2 separate regions of the Homo sapiens genome follow, and region 1 is linked to region 2. The links are contacts of gene promoters, found by promoter capture Hi-C in blood cells and fetal thymus (Javierre and others, 2016). All regions are on one chromosome and are shown on one strand. The core of a region is centred on a gene start or on the middle of the fragment in contact, and the rest is flanking DNA. Distances in the headings are between cores, read along the strand shown.

What was found. Contacts are between HindIII fragments. The CHiCAGO score rates a contact against its expected background, and 5 or more counts as called.
Region 1: a contact is called between a fragment that was not itself captured here and the fragment with the promoter of CMIP in region 2, in 2 of 17 cell types (neutrophils and fetal thymus). The highest score is 6.4, in neutrophils.

What each region holds. Positions count from the first base shown.
Region 1 is chr16:81,316,005-81,320,016 of GRCh38, forward strand. The region is part of intron 1 of GAN (gigaxonin); the gene reads left to right. Among named protein-coding and RNA genes, the nearest start is that of GAN, 3.0 kb to the left of the region's middle. The HindIII fragment of the contact is 2,901 bases long and covers 51-2,951 here.
Region 2 is chr16:81,442,467-81,446,073 of GRCh38, forward strand. It overlaps CMIP (c-Maf inducing protein), which reads left to right and starts at 2,342. Exons shown (of 21, transcript NM_198390.3): 1 at 2,342-3,075. The coding sequence starts at 2,776. RefSeq lists an enhancer at 1,183-1,715 and silencers at 1,925-2,024, 2,135-2,484, 2,555-2,604, 3,035-3,334. The HindIII fragment of the contact is 9,361 bases long and covers 1-3,607 here.

The sequences.
Region 1 (4,012 bases), core at 251-2,750, 130 kb before region 2:
GACCGTGAGAGCCTTGCGACAAAGGGCATTTTAATACTTTAGTAAAGCAAAGCTTAACCTGATTTGCCAACTCAACTAACCAGGTTAATTAAAAGGTTGATAAGACAGTGCTTATACAAGTGTATCAGATCTTGCAGGAGACTATCTTTTCTTTTAGCAACCTTCTTGCAAACTAGGTTGCTGTTTTAATAAAAGGAAAGGGGGGAATGCTAAAAACTGGAGAAACTGACCAGTAAGCTGGTTAAATATAAGCTAGTGGTAGAGAATATCACTACAATTGACAGGTCAGAAAAAGCAAAATGATGTGTATTCTTAGCGCTTTGTCCCAGCAAAACCACCACGCACGCTACACTTTTAACCTTTGCATTGGGGAGATATCTGTGCTAAACTTAGAAGAAATTCAAGTGCCCTTGTAACTTCTGGTTTCTCTTGGATTTGTTTTGTGAATCCATTTGCGCTCTTTGGCGGTGGGGAGTGTGGAGGGGTGGGGGGGCGGGGCGGCAGTAGGGTCTGGGGTAGCATCGTTAGTACAGAATTTGGATTGCTAATGTGACAGACAGCTTCTAGCTGGCAGTTCCGAGGTTTGAGCAACCCATCCCAAATTGGAGTCAGCAGACCAAAGTCTTCCCTGTTTGGGAAAATGCTGAAGAAAACTACTTTAGATGCATTATTGTTATAGTTCTTTAAATGGCATCCGTTTGGCTTAAAAGAAGTAAATTGCAAATTGCCGAATCCTTGCTTGTTATCCTTGTTCGTTTTTCTCCATAGCACTTACCACTTTGACGTACCCCATATTTTACACATTTACTTTGGTGGTCTTTCCCAACCACAGTGTGACCTCAATGAGGTCGTGGTGTTTTGTTTTGTTTTTCGAGACTGAGTTTCACTCTTTAGCCCAGGCTAGAGTGCAGTGGCGTGATCTCGGCCCACTGCAACCTCCGCCTTCCAGTTTCAAGCGATTCTCCTGCCTCAGCCTCCCGAGTAGCTGGGATTACAAACGCCCGCCACCACGCCCGGATAATTTTTGTATTTTTAGTAGAGTCGGGGTTTTACCATGTTGGCCAGGCTGGTCTCGAACTCCTCACCTCGTGATCCGCCCACCTCGGCCTCCCAAAGTGCTGGGATTACAGGCGTGAGCCGTGGCACCCGGCGGTGTTTTCTTTTATTCACTGCTTTACTCTTTGCACCCAGAAAGAACTGTGCCTATCAGTTAATGTATTGAATGAATGACTGCCTTTCTTTCTACCACAGCAAATGTGTACATTAGAAAATTGGCACCATCACATTTTCATAGTACACAGACGCTCAGTTATACCTAATTGAGAAACGCACTGGATTCAGAGTTTGAAGACCCGCTTTGTGCTTCCAGCTTTTACTCATATTAGCTGTGAGTTGCTGGTAGATGACAAGGCTTCAGCTCACTAATCTGATGAATGAGGGATAAAAATGAGTCTTCTCATTTAATCACACCTGTGAAGAAATACGTAATAGTGTTGACACCTCATAGGTCTGTTCCCATGTCTTCAAAGGTAGTACCCATTGAATTAGGAAATATCTGTAGTCCGGTTCTTTCACTTTCTAAATAAGAAAATAGGGGCTCAGTGGACATTAGTGACTTGTGTTATGAGGTTATTAGTACTTAATGGTTGAACTAGGATTAGACTCCAAATTAATTACGGCTAACCGCCTTCCTACTCTTGCCCTACCACGTTAGAGCATTACTTGTATTTCACCGTTCTCTTTGTGTAAACTTTACTGTTAGCTGGCTTACAATATCTTAGAATTAAAATGTTTATCAAGCACTTTTACATACTGTGTCATTTTGGTTTCCATTTTCAATCATCTTTAAAGAGAAGGCAGATTTTTTTTTTTTATGTTTTGTGGATAAACATGAATCAGTCAATATGTGTTTCATCAGTGACAGATGAATTGCTTTAAGTTTATTTGGCTATTGAAGTGATAGAATGTCTTGGGATGTTTTTAAAAATTATCAATTCCGAAGCTGTTTCAAAGTAATTTGACGAATCTGTATCACTAACTAGAAAGAAATTTGTTAATTTTGTATTTTTACTGGTAATTTTAATACCAATAATATTGGGCTTTTATAATGTACTTGTTTGTTTGAATAGCACTTTAGAGAATTATATTGAAACAAAATATATTTATGTATTCTAGAACTTGATGTTTCTTATCTTTCCCTTTTGAAACTTAAGCATTTAGATCTGTGATATCATTAATCTGTGAATTGAATGTTCAAAAGTTTGGTAATCTCTGAAGTTTTATAAAATTCTGATTTTGTTTAATGTCTGTGTTTGGCCTAGTGTTGGTAACTGTCATAAGTGGTTGTGTGATTGTGTGGTTTAGAAGCAGTGGTATGGCCTGGCATGGTAGCTCACACCTGTAATCCTAGCACTGTGAGAGGTGGAGGCGGGAGGATCGTTTGAGGTCAGGAGTTCGAGACTAGCCTGGGCAACATAGTGAGACCCAGTCTGTACAATAATAAATCATGTATATAAAAAATAGGAGCAGTATTGTCTTTTGCTTACTATGTGCCCAACAAAGGAAGCCAGTCCAACTCTGTCACACTGGGAATTAAAGTAACTTGTTTGGCATACTTTCTACTTAATATAGAAAAGTCTTTTGACTTATTGGTTTAATCTTTTATTCTGCTTTATCTTTGGTCTAGCCCTTGTTTTTCCTGCTGACACCCTTAGCAATCCTACCATATTAGAAAGATTTTAAATATAAAAGGAAAAGGCCAGAAAACTCAGCTTTGGCAACACACCCTCATGGTCAGCTCAGAGAGGACTGGCATCCCCGGGTTATGTAGAGAGAGCACGTGTCATGCAGCCCTAGGGTGCAGCTGCTCCAGGAAGGAGGCAGGACCTCCTGCGGTCCCTCAGCTCAGTAAATGGCATGCATGCCCCTTTCCCAGCATGCTCCTTTCCCAAAGCTTTTCCTCCTTTTGGTTCCTGGGTGAGATTTTCTCTTTGGTTTGTTGGGGAAACTAAACCTAAAAGTAGTTGACAGGCTGGGCGCAGTGGCTCATGGCTGTAATTACAGCACTTCGGGAGGCTGAGGCGGGAGGATCCCTTGACCCCGGGAGTTCCAGGATGCAGTGAGCTATGACTGCCACTGCACTGCAGCCTGCCTGGGTGACAGAGACCCTGTCTCTTAAATTAAAAAAAAAATAGATATAGATTATATATATATATATATATCTAACAACCTTTCTAAGAATGGCAAAACCGAATTCATAGTCATAAGCACCCACAGAGCCTTTTCTTTCTCATCAACTCTGAGACCTTCTGGGGAAAGCTCCCTGCGGCTTGCAGGAAATTTATTTTTCTTTTGAATATTACAGTTTGGTCTGCTTCATGTCTGAGGCTCTTCCGATTCTGGCACAGTCCCATTGATCTGATGCAAAGTTCAGACCCATTTCTCTCCTGAGCTGTGGTTCTTGGTGAGTAATGTATGTGAAAAGGATTTGAAAATGAACGGCTATGTGCTTCTGCAGTGACATTATGGTGGCTCTGTACAGGTTTCCAGTCCTGTGATCACTTGTAAAATTTAGGGTTTTCTGGAGACCTATTGCAACAAAAGTTTGTTTAGCTCTCAGTCCTGGAGAGAAAATGAAAAAAAAGATTCCTAAGATTTTTAGATCCTTTGATGAGTCAGCTAAGAATGTAAGTGGCTTCCCCCCGACCCCCCCTTATTTTTTGAGAGAAGGCAGGTCTAGTGAGGATAGAATGAGACATAGGGCCTCAAATCCAGCCTAGGTCATCATGAGCGACTTTTCTGGGCTCTAGCTTCCTTATCTGTGAAGTGAGGTGGTTGGGCTACATGGACAGCAAATCCCCTTTAAGTCTAAGTTATGTAGCTCTATGCTATTTTTGTTTTGCCTCATGTGTATGTGTTGTGAGGAGGAGGACCTGTTTCTGTTTTTATAGCTTTATTGTGTCATTTAAAGTTTTGTTTTATGTTAATATTAAAGCATTTCCATTCCCCTGTC
Region 2 (3,607 bases), core at 1,092-3,591:
TCCTCCTTCTACTGGAGTTTTGTGCCCTGTATGGGTAGGGGCGTGTCCACAGATGTCCCCGAAGTGGACAGCAGCTGCTTTGCTTGCCACTGGGCCACTCCACCCAGTGACTTTGTGCTAGCCCTTGTTGCTTCCTTCTGTGGGGGGTAGGTGAGCATGAAAGTCTCCTCACTGGCCTCCTTGCCTCTAGGTTTCTCCTCTGCAATGCTCATCTGTGCCACACTGCAGCCTTTTGAAGAAGCCATGTACAAGTCACTCCTTTGCATGGCCCATGTGGTGTCTCCCCACTGCTCTAGTCCCTGGGTTTGCATTTCAGGGTGCTGCTTGCTCACCGCCTACATCTCTGCTCCACCTCCTCCAGGGACCTTGCACCCCATGGCAAGTGAGTTCAGTTTCCTGAACAAGCTGAGCATCCTCCCATCTCTTTGCCTTGGTAGGAGCCAGTTCGTCTTCTTGGAGCACCTATCCCCTTCTTTACTTGATTCCTAAAGAACTCTTAGAGTACCCTGGTCCCCCACACTGGGTTAGACATCCCCCTTTCTGTTCCTGGAGCACCAAGCACAATGTCTGTTACTGTTCTGGACTCTGACCTCCATGCTTTGTGGTTGAGGATGAGGACAGCACCTATGTCATAGGGTGTGAGAAGAGAATGATGTGTGCGTACAAAATTCTTAGCACATAGGAAGCCTCTGGCCACTGTGGTTATTATAGTCATTACCATTAATACCCTAGTGCCTGGCCTGTGACCAGCATACAGCAGGAGCTCAATGAAAATATTTGAACAAAGGATCTAATCCCACCCGCTTAATGGACTGGGGGGTTTCTTGGCCCCAACCACCCCCCAACACCCACATATCTAGGGCTTGCCCCTTCATGCTTGGTGGTTTTCTCAAGGCTGTTCAAGCTCAAAACTGGAAGGAAATGGCAGCAAATTGTGGGGAGCTAAGGAATTTCTAACTTTCTAATCTAATTGTGCCTCCCCAAGGAGGCATCTCCTGGGCAGGCTGGATGTGAGTCTTCTTTCCTTGGTGAGGGATGCAGCCTGGGACCTGCCTTTCATCCCCTGCCTGAAACCCTGGCCAGGCTCGGGGAGAGGGTCCTCTGGGGAGCACCTTCATGCTGCCTGTTCTTGGGAGAGGGGGGGTGAATAATTTCCACCAACGGCACAGATGCTGTGGATATTCCGCAGTGTTCACGACGCAGTTCAACACACGCTGCACACATTCATGTGTTCACTACAGAGGCGCCTTCACTTAAAAAGGCAAAAATCTAGGGTTTTAACGTTATTAGCTGCAGGAGCACGTGGAGATAAGAAAACCTGGCTGAGGAGCTGAGCATTTGCTAGGTGGCCTTAGGTGCCGGCTGCTTGTGATGGCAGAAAGGGAGCTTTTTGCATCCAGGCTGCAGTTCCTGATACCCTGGGTCACAAGAGAATCGAATATGGTTCTCTCGTGGGCTGGTGCTGGGCCTGTGAACTCAGATAAAATGACCAGGTGGGGTCCCAGGGAAGGTGAAGTAGGGGGAGCTGCTGGGGTGCGCACAAGAGGGGTGGCTGTGTAGGTTGGGGGGTGCTTTAAGTGGGTTCCTAGAAGAGGCTCTGTCTCCCTGGGCAGAAGAAAGAAGGGGGATGGGCGGACCGTCCCCTCTCTCCAGAAGGTTTGAGGACCCCCAAGGCCAAAGCCAGCAGACGTCAAAGGCCAGGAGTTCGAGGCCGGCTGGGTCCCGCAGTGGGAGACAGGGCAGGGTGGGCTCATCCTCCGGATCACCGCGGGGACACTTTCAGTCGGGAAGGCGTCCCCGTCCCACGGCCCCATCTGGCCAGCCCGCTGGACAGCCTGGACAGCGGAGGGGGCGTCAGGGGTCGAGGGTTCCAGTCCCCGTCCTTCCACCCAGCCCCCGGCCCTCGGGTATCCTTCTTTACCCGTCCGAGTCCGGCCCGGGGGCGGCGGGGGTGGGTGAGGCGCGGGCCCCCAGGCTCCGGCAGCCTGGCTGGGCTCCCGCCCGGGCACCCGCGGGGGCGCGGCTGGCGTGACGTCACGCGCCCCGCCCCCGCGCCCCGCCCCCTCCCCACATTCCAGGCGGGGCGGGCCGGGACCCCGCGGGGCTCGCCCGCCCCAGCCCCCTCCCCAGGGGCTGCCCCTCCCGTCGGGCCGCGCCTCCCCGTCGTGGGCCGCGACCCCGCCCGGACCGCGGACTCCGCCCGCGAGAGGCCGAAGCCGCCGCGGCCGCCGCCGTTGCCGCCATTGACGTCAGAGGGGCGGGCACATGACCCTGCGGGGACCAATCGCGCGGGCGCCCCGGGCTCCGGGAGCCCGGCGCGCGGCCCGCCCCGCCCGCGGCCACTCTCGCCCGGACGGCCGCGCGGACACACGCTCTGTACACACGCGCGCGGCGGCGCGGGGCCCCGAGACACGCCCGCCCCCACCCCGCCGCCCCCACCCCGGCGCCCGCCCTCCGCGCCTGGCCCCGGCCCGCCCTCGGCCTCCCCCGCCCCTCCCCGTCGCCCGCCGAGCCCGGTCAGCCGCCGCGAGCATGCACCCGACGAGCTAGGAGGAAGCCCGGAGCCCCGCAGGAAGCGCCGAGGCCGGCCCAGCCCGCCGCACGCGCCGCCCCCCGCGGGCAGCGCCCCCTCCCCTGCGGGCGCCCCCAGCCCCACACCCCCCCACCTTCCCGGGGGGTGGGGGGGTGCGGGCCGCCGGATCCGGGGGCCCCGCCGCCCCAGCAGCCCAGGACAGCCCCCTCTCCCCGCCCCCAGCCCCCTCCCCCGGCGCGGCCATGGATGTGACCAGCAGCTCGGGCGGCGGCGGCGACCCCCGGCAGATCGAGGAGACCAAGCCGCTGCTGGGGGGCGACGTGTCGGCCCCCGAAGGCACGAAGATGGGCGCCGTGCCCTGCCGCCGGGCTCTTCTGCTTTGCAACGGGATGAGGTACAAACTGCTGCAGGAGGGCGACATTCAGGTCTGTGTCATCCGGCACCCGCGGACCTTTCTCAGCAAGATCCTCACCTCGAAATTCCTGAGGCGCTGGGAGCCGCACCACCTAACGCTGGCCGACAACAGCCTGGCGTCCGCCACGGTGAGTGGCTCTGCGCGGCTGCACCCCCGCCTCTCCTCGGGGCCCGAGATGCGCCCTCCCTGGCTGCCCCCTGGCGCTGCACCTGGAGCCCAGGGCCTGGGGGGCGGTGGGGGGTGCCGGGGGAACGGGGAGAACCAGGGCGCCTCGCTCCTGGCCTGCTCGCGGGGCTCGATTTTGGAGTCTGAAGCCCAAACCAGCCGACCGGGCTCAGGAGAGACCCTTAAAATGCTGGAGACTCGGCCCACCGCCAGGCTGGGTGCCTGGGGACCTTCTGCCCCCAGCTCTTGTGTTTCTGGTGGCTGGGACTCGAGGATGGACCCGACGCTGGGCCCTGATGGTGGTGGGGGTTCTCTCTGGAAGCCCCTGGCCCATCTGGATCTGAGGGGTGGGGGAGGGGAAAACAAAATACCACCCCTCAGATTTAAAAAAAAAAACAAACAACACAACAAAACCTCCAAACCCCCAAACCCAAAGAATTTCCAGAAGCCAGTTTCTCTGTTTGGTTTACCCGTCCTTTATTCTCTTTCCTGCC